Regions from separate parts of the Homo sapiens genome. Here region 2 is linked to region 1. Evidence: promoter capture Hi-C in 16 types of primary human blood cells and fetal thymus (Javierre and others, 2016). All regions are on one chromosome and are shown on one strand. The core of a region is centred on a gene start or on the middle of the fragment in contact, and the rest is flanking DNA. Distances in the headings are between cores, read along the strand shown.

The links. The method cuts DNA at HindIII sites, captures the fragments that hold promoters and counts their contacts. A CHiCAGO score of 5 or more calls a contact.
Region 2: a contact is called between a fragment that was not itself captured here and the fragment with the promoter of DACH2 in region 1, in 2 of 17 cell types (total B cells and activated CD4 T cells). The highest score is 6.2, in total B cells.

The regions. Positions count from the first base shown.
Region 1 is chrX:86,145,992-86,150,428 of GRCh38, forward strand. DACH2 (dachshund family transcription factor 2) reads left to right here and starts at 2,460. Exons shown (of 12, transcript NM_053281.3): 1 at 2,460-3,117. The coding sequence starts at 2,630. The HindIII fragment of the contact is 4,799 bases long and covers 1-3,271 here.
Region 2 is chrX:85,838,101-85,842,537 of GRCh38, forward strand. No RefSeq gene overlaps it. Among named protein-coding and RNA genes, the nearest start is that of MIR1321, 4.5 kb to the left of the region's middle. The HindIII fragment of the contact is 206 bases long and covers 1,875-2,080 here.

The DNA.
Region 1 (4,437 bases), core at 1,210-3,709:
TCAGATTTCTTAAATTTGAAACATCAAAATATCTGTGCAATGTTTTATTGCTGAAAACCCCAAATTGCTCTGCAAATAAAAAGGCCTTGATAATGTGGGCACAGCTACATACAAGGGGTAGCTTGGCCTTAGGATTTTTAACGTAATTAGAGCCATTTGAAAATAAAACATCCTTTACAGCCAAACTTATTCACCTGGAAATTTCAATCACAATAAGTTATCAGAGGCAAGCTATTTCAACAGATAGTTTAACAGCCATTTCAGTCAAAACACCTGTTGAATACAATTTGGGATTTCTCTTTTTAAAAACTGGTAAATACAAACATTTCTGTCAGTGCTGTTTTATTCTTTTTTGATACTTCTACTTTTGGTTGAGGCGTTTTCTGCCTTTGCTATTTCTTCTCAATTGTCCTTTTTTTGCCCCTTATTACTTTCTTCCCACAACAGTATCGATGTAGCAAAAACATTTTGATGCCTTTTAAAAATGTCTCGTGGCTGCCTATATCCCAATCTATTATGTTAGAGTCATATCACTGCATTTTGAAAGCAATGATCATCACAACTTCTTAGCATTTTAACCCTGTACAATTTGAAATTGAAACAGTATGAAGAGATTCAAAGGGCAGTTCTTAAACCTGGTTGATGAAATGAGAAAAGAAGAAAATATGTTGTAGAAAGAGGCAGAAAAATCCAATTTAGGGTATCTGTAACTAAATAAGGGAGCAAAAAGAACCCACACATTTCTCGTTGATCCTGCTAAGTACAACTAGGGCTGAATAAAATTCAGTAAGTTTCCAACATTATTTATATTTTAGAAGAATATCAGAGAAGTTACCATAAGCCATGTAGTTGGTAACGTTTTGTAAAGAAACGAAACCTGGATTTCACTTTATGAATAACTAACAGCCTCCAGAGAAGAGGAGCACAGGAAAGGAAATATCTTGGTTTTAGAGAATGAATAGCTTGACAAGGAGTCTTAAAACAACTTTGCTAGGCCAGGAGCGGTGGCTCACGCCTGTAATCCCAGAACTTTGGGAGGCCGAGGAGGGCGGATCACGAGGTCAGGAGTTCGAGACCAGCCTGGCCAATATGGTGAAACCCTGTCTCTACAAAAAAAAAAAAAAGTATGTATATGTGTGTATATATATGTATATATATGTATATGTGTGTATATATATATGTATATGTATACATAAATTAGCCAGGCATGGTGGCGCGCACCTGTTGTCCCAGTTACTCGGCCGAGGCAGGAGAATCGCTTGATCCCCGGAGGCGGAGGCTGCAGTGAGCCGAGACTGTGCCACTGCACTCTAGTCTGGGCGACAGAGTGAGAATCTGTCTCAAAACAAACAAAAACAACTTTGCTAAGGCGATCTAACCACCATATGCTGTGTGGAAAAGACCATTCCTTTTCCCTGGAATGTACCCTGCTTAGACATTTTGTTCTATAAGCTCTTAGTACGTTTGGGACGCTTGATGAGTGGGGGAAGTGGAATCTTGTTTAGGACTGGAGCTCCAATCACTGGACCTTCAAAGCCAATGGAAGAGGAAGGAAAATGCACGTTCAAGAATGCAAACCCTCGCCCTTTCCTCATATTCCGTGATGACTGTTTTGAGTCCTAAACAAACATTTCCTATCAATTTTAGCGGGGAGTAGGGCCAGGGCAATCTCGACACTAAGGGACGGGGACACAGACAAGTCTCTTCCAGGACAGTGGCGGAAGTGCCATAAAATGAGGTGTCCATCTGCCACCCACAGAGCAAGTCTCTCTGTTTCCCAAAGTGTTCACAGGCTCACTACGCTTCCTGAATGTCAGTGCGAGTTAGCAACCAGAACTCTGATCTGAGTATGATCTCGGACGCTTGTTCCTCTGCGCGCTGGGTAGGGGAAAATTTACACCAAGCGCACTTAGGTGGGCTAAAGGGCTGAGCTGTTTACTTCTGAACTCGCTAGCGTCTTTCTCCCGGAAGCTAGGCGAAGCCATCTATTAGCCCCCGCAGAGTTTGGGAGAGATGCGCAAGTGGAATTGGAGCTGCCACCTCACTTTCCACGATCTAACCCGGTGTAAGGTGGCGGAAGGGGCATGGGGAGGCACGTTCAGGAGTCGCGCTTTGCGTTTCCACCCCGACACCAGCGGAGCGCGGAGCGGATGGGTTCACAGCATAGGCCACTTTGAGAACTCTGCGTGACATCTGGGAGTTCTCTCGTCTGGCAGAGAGGCAAGAAGCAGAGGCACCACACCGCCCCCTTCTCGGACTGGATCTCTGTTCTTGGTCGAGCCTGGACCCACTCAGGTAGTCGGACGCCGGCCAGGGAGTCTCCACCTCCTCACCAGCGGCAGCCATTCGGAGCGCTCGGGCGCAGAAGGGCTGGGGCCCATTGGCTGTGGGACGCTGCCAGTCTCCGGAGGGGGTGTGGTGGGGGTGGGGTCTGGGGCCGCAGCGGGTCGGGGCTGCTCACTGTTTGTTGAGCTTGAGCGTGAGCCGGCTGCTGAAGACTTGCGAACAGTTCGGAGCCAGCGAGAGCGCGCCAGAGAGAGCGAGAGTGAGGGAGTGAGTGCGAGGGGATCTAGAGGAGTCAGGGCGAGAAAGCGAGGGCCGGAGGACCCACGATAGAGACAGAGTGACCATGGCTGTCTCCGCATCTCCAGTGATCTCTGCAACTTCCAGCGGCGCCGGCGTCCCGGGGGGCTTATTCCGGGCCGAACCCCTGTACTCGACTCCCAGAGAGCCCCCTCGTCTTACTCCTAATATGATCAATAGTTTCGTGGTTAATAACCACAGCAACAGTGCCGGAGGCGGCGGCAGGGGCAACACCAACACCAACGAGTGCCGCATGGTCGACATGCACGGGATGAAGGTGGCTTCGTTCCTGATGGACGGCCAGGAACTGATCTGCCTGCCGCAAGTCTTTGATCTTTTTCTCAAGCACCTGGTGGGAGGCTTGCACACTGTGTACACCAAGCTGAAGAGACTGGATATATCCCCCGTGGTGTGTACTGTTGAGCAGGTCCGGATCCTCCGCGGGCTGGGGGCCATCCAGCCCGGGGTAAACCGCTGCAAACTCATCACCAGGAAAGACTTCGAAACTTTGTTCACCGATTGCACCAATGCCAGGTGAGACACTCGTTTCTTGGCTCTCCCACTTCTCTTACCCCTTTGGCCTCTTCTGCATGCCTCACCACCCTCATCCAACTTTGTTTGTAGAGTGAGTCTTAACTAGTTTGCCTCTATTCTTCACGCTGTAAATCGGTGGGGAAAGAGGACTAGAAGCTTTCATTAATGCTGGTGCCTTCTAGTCCACGCTCAGTGCAAGGGCTTCGGTCTAAAAAAGTCCCGCAAACTTGAGTTTGCAGTCCTCTATTGAAACTTTCCAGCCTTTTGCCCATATCTTGCATGGCTTTTGGCTGTTCGTGGTTATTTGTTAATTTCTCTATTTGGTTTTCTTTCCTGCTCTTTTGTGGCCGCACGGGTCGGATAGGTTTTCTTCTGAACACGGATACCAAGGGCTTTCTCTGGGGGCTGGCTGAGCTGTAAACTGGGCTCCTAAGCTGGCAAGCCAGAACACAGCATTTGGGGCATGCAGGGGGTGGGAAGTCTAGAATCCATCCCAGAGGGTGATTCGATCCCCATCCCGTGTGTTTGTTGTGAGAATGTGTGGGGTGTGTGGTGTTGTTGTTTGTGGTGGTGTTGGTGTGTATGTGTGCAAGTGCGCGTGAGAACGTATGCTCATGCTTGCTGCGCAAAGCTCCCCAGTACACGATACAGGAAAGTCGATGGATACTATTTTTACAAAAGGACGACGACAAATATCACTTTCCTGGGATCGTCCGTTTTGGGTTATCTGCAGAGGGCAATGTGGGGCATGAACCACTGTGGCTGGGACTGGATTGGAGGTTGGTGTACAAGTTGGCAGATTTCTAGAGAGGATGCTCTCAGCTCTTCCAGGCGAACAGTTGGAAGGATCCCATTCCCTTAAAGACAGGATTCCTTAAATGATGATGGCCAGCTTCCCTGGTTGTAAGTGTACCTCCTTCATATCACAGTTTAGAAGTACACTAGTGAATAAATGTCCATTTGTATATGAGAAGCAAATTGTGTTCAATGTTTCTGAGTTTAAAAAGAAAAAAAGTATACTCAAGATTATCTGACTTTTTAAACGCCTGTGAATTAGTCTTCTAGTGTTTATTCCATCTCCAGTTTGGTAACATCTCAGGAAAGCACAGATTTGGCACAAAAATCACCATCACGTGGTTAAAAGGAGCAAAGGATTTTGTTGTAAAACAGCACTACTGCTTATTATTTTGCAAAAATAAAATAAAAAACCAACAACTTTCTCAAAATGAACTTTAAATCATAAAATCTCTGGGTCTGTGAACTAAAACTGTAACAGTTTGCCACATCTGTTGTAAAATCCAAATTGCCATGTATAGTTGA
Region 2 (4,437 bases), core at 728-3,227, 310 kb before region 1:
GATGTTCGAGGGCAGGAAGCATCCAGCACAGGAGAAAGATGAAGGCCAGAAGACTCAGCAAGTCTCCTCATTCCACTTTCTTCTGCCTGCTTTATTCTAGCCATGCTGGCAGCTGATTAGATGGTGCCCACCCAGATTGAGGGTGGGTCTGCCTCTCCCAGTCCACTGACTCAAATGTTATTCTCCTTTGGCAACACTCTCACAGACAAACCCAGAAATAATACTCTGCATCCTTCAATCTAATCAAGTTGACACTCAATATTAACCATCACAGGTGTTTTAGCAACATGTGGGACATATTTTCCTACTAATGAATTGAGAAAGACTCTTCTAAACAAGATGCAAAGTCCAGAGCCATAAAAGAAAATATTAAGTGAATTGTCTATATCAAAATTTAAAATTTCTAGGTAATGAATCACACCATAAAAGTTAAAATCTAGAATGAAAAAAAGATTTGCAATATGTGTAATGAAGTATTAATATGAAAATATAAAAAGAATTTTTGCAAGTTATAATAGTGGCAAGGGCATAAACTGAGAAATCATAGAAGAGGTAACTGAAAATTGGCATTGAACATATGTTTCGATGTATAAGGAGGGAAATGCATAGTATAACAATATGATACCATATTTTTTAGCTCATTAGATTGGCAGACATTTAAAAAGTAATAATATCTAGTATCAGTGAGTGGAAATCAGCTTTTTTAAAGTACCATTTGGCAGTCTATCAAAATGTAAAGTGTACATACCCTTTAAACCAGTAATTCAACCACTAAGACTCTATCTACCAGAGATATGCATGTGAACAGAGATATAAGTATGAGATGTTTGTTGAATCATTACTTAAAAGAACAATAAAACTGAAAACAACCAAATATTCATTAATAATTGTTGGATAAATAGATTTCATACCATGGAATGGTACGCAGCAATAAATAAGAGGGACGAACATTTTTATGTGCTATATTTTATGATGTCTAAGATATAGTTGTTGAAATAAGCCAATTACAGAACTATGATGTGAGCCAACTTATGTTTTTAGAAAACATTTAAAAAGACCCTATACCCTTATACTCAGTGTGTGTGTGTGTGTGTGTGTGTGTGTGTGTGTTTGTATACACATGCATAAGTGGAGAAAAATATCTGAAAGAACACACCAAACATCAGTTTTACATCTGGGAAGAAGTTATATTATAAATGGTGGTAAAGGAATATTTCAAAAAATGTAGAAAATTCAAAAGTAGAAAGAAAAAAGACTGTTCACAAATTCCCTCAATTCAAAGCTAACTATTGTTACCCTTCTGTGTACACACACATACATATATGCACGTAGATATCTCTAGCTCTCTTTTACACAACGTGGGATCCCACATACATGCTACTTTCATAACTTGCTTTTTTGTTTAACCATACACTGTGGATTTTTTTCATGACATTAATTGCCTATTTTATTTATTTAACAATAACTTATAGTGCATACTATATTCCAGGCACTTTCCCAAATACCATACATATACATAAATCTGAATTCTTTCAATGCTTTTTAAAGGTATTATTGTTACTGCTATAAAAGCATTATCATTTGTGTACGTAACATCAACATTAATCATTCAGATGAAGGAGAAATAAGGAAAGAGTGCCTATCACTGTAATGGAACTGAGAAAATTTTCAGAGGACCTTCCATGCACAGGTTGAGGCCCTTCTAGAGAATACCTGGAAAATGTTATTTGGATCTGGACCGCAACATGAAGAGAGAAGCAAGTTAATGACTCTTTTTACAAAACTCTATTCATATACACAGCACATTTTTGTTATACATCCAAGTAATTTTTTTAAACCACAAAGAGAATTACCAGTCAAGTAGCTCTGACACAAGCTTCCTTTGATTAGACCTCCCATGCTGGTAGCCACTGCAACTGCTTGGATCTTTTTTTTTTTCAAGACAAGTCCCATTTGCCACAGAGATTTATAGTATTTCCATTTCAGCCTGTATAGCACTAATCACTATTAGAATATGGGCAAAAAGCCTGTTAATAAATATAGTGATGGAATCCATAACAGATGCTTTTCTCACAATAAAAGCTTGAATTTCACACACCTCCTAAATTTCCTGTGTCTCATGACCAAATTTCAGGTATTTGGAAAGTTTGTTTGATAAAGTGTCACTTGGGGATAAGAGATGGGCCATTTCTCTTGGGATTAAACCTGAATATTTAGACTTCATTGCCTCTTTGAATGTACTCTTATAGATGTCACTTTTCAACTTGCAGGTTTAAGTATCTAAAACCACTAACACCAAGTAATGAGAAGGACTCTAGTCTGATTATACTAAACATCTCGGTTCAAGTTCACTAAAAATTCTCCAGCACATCTGCTGTTACAGTCATGGTGGAGAGAAGAGTGGCCTGGTAATTAGAAAACCTGGCTCCTAATCCTGGCTCTGTCCTTAATCATGCAAACAGTAATGCTATCTTTTCTTGAGTTCTATTCTACATGTCAGGTGCTTTGCTGAGTGCTTCACATGGATTTTGACATATTGACTCTTACAAACATCCTATGAAGTAGGTACTATCATTATTCTTGTTTAACAGGCAAGGAAACTGATAACTAGAAAGATTGAAATGATTTGCTAAGAGTTACAGCTAACAGCCCAGCATCACACCCATGAGTGCCCACGCATGTGGACAAGGGGCCTGGGGATCAACCCACTAGCTCAATGCCATCAGTGTCCACCCACATGTTTCAGAAACCTGAGGACAAGCCATTCCAGCCTGCTGGTGCCTATGCACACCAGCTGAGAGCCTGGAGATCAACCAGCCACACCTGCCACAGCCTGCATCCGTGTGCACCATCAGGAGCCTGAGGACAGGCTAGCTCTCCCTGGCACCACCTCCTCTAGTGCCCATATATGTCTTTGGGGGTTCTGGGGATTGGATTGCCTCACCTGCTGCCAGTGGTATCCAGAAACTCTTCCTGGAGGTCTGAGGATGTGCCCACCTGTCCTGCTACCACCACCACTGCCAGCACCTACTTGCATAAACCACCTGGTAACCTGGGGATTGGCCCACCCAGTTTGCAGCTGCCACTGCTGATGTCTGTGCATACCACATGAAGGGCCAAGAGCTGGCCTGCCACAGCTACTGCCACCATTGTCAATTGCTACACACCATCCAGGGACCCAAAGACACACTTGACTTACTGTTACCACTCCACTGCTGGAACATGAACAAGATACCTGGAGGCCCAAGGATCAACCTGCCTTGACCCACTACCACCAGATCTCACACACACTTTCATGGGGGCCCAATGACTGGCATGTTTGGCCCACTGCTGCCACCACTAGGGCCCAAGGATCAGCCCATCTGACATCCCTGTCTCCAGTAAGGCCCTACCACATCCTCCACTAACAACTTCAGCCTAAGCCACTGAAGAACTCACAGACACCATTTATGCTGATTGCAGTCAAATAAATCATACAGAGACTACAGAAAAGCGTGCACCCAGAATCAATGGAAAATCACCCAATCCAACCAGAACTATAGATAAATTTATAAGAAACAGTCTTTACCTACAAAATCCTATCCATAAAATAAGTGACTGCTACATCAGACATGCAAATATCAACATAAGAACACAAGAAACATGAAAAAACAAGGAACTATGACACCTCCAAAGAACATAATTCTCCCGCAATAGATTCCACTGAAAAAGAAATCCATAAAATGCCTGAAAAAATGCAAAATGATATTAGAGAAGCTCAGTGAGATGCAAAAGAACACAGATAAACAATACAAAGAAATCAGAAAAAAAAGATTTATAATCTAAATGAGAAATTCAACACAGATAACTATCATAAAAAAGAATCAAACAGAAGTCTTGGAGCTGAGGAATTCAATGGGTGAAATGAAATAAAACATATAACTGAGTTTCAACAATAGACTAGATCAAGCAAAAGAAGGAATTTTTAAACTTGAAGGCAGGTCTTTTGAAATAACCCAATCAGGCAAAAAAGAGGAAAAATAATTTTAAAAAAGAATAAAGAAAGCCTATGTGGCATATGGAACAACATAAAGCAACCAAATATTGAAATACTATGCAGCCATAAAAAATGATGAGTTCATGTCCTTTGTAGGGACATGGATGAAATTGGAAATCATCATTCTCAGTAAACTATCGCAACAACAAAAACCAAACACCGCATATTCTCACTCATAGGTGGGAATTGAACAATGAGAACACATGGACACAGGAAGGGGAACATCACACTCTGGGGACTGTTGTGGGGTGGGGGGAGGGGGGAGGGATAGCATTGGGAGATATACCTAATGCTAGATGACGAGTTAGTGGGTGCAGCGCACCAGCATGGCACATGTATACATATGTAACTAACCTGCACATTGTGCACATGTACCCTAAAACTTAAAGTATAATAATAAT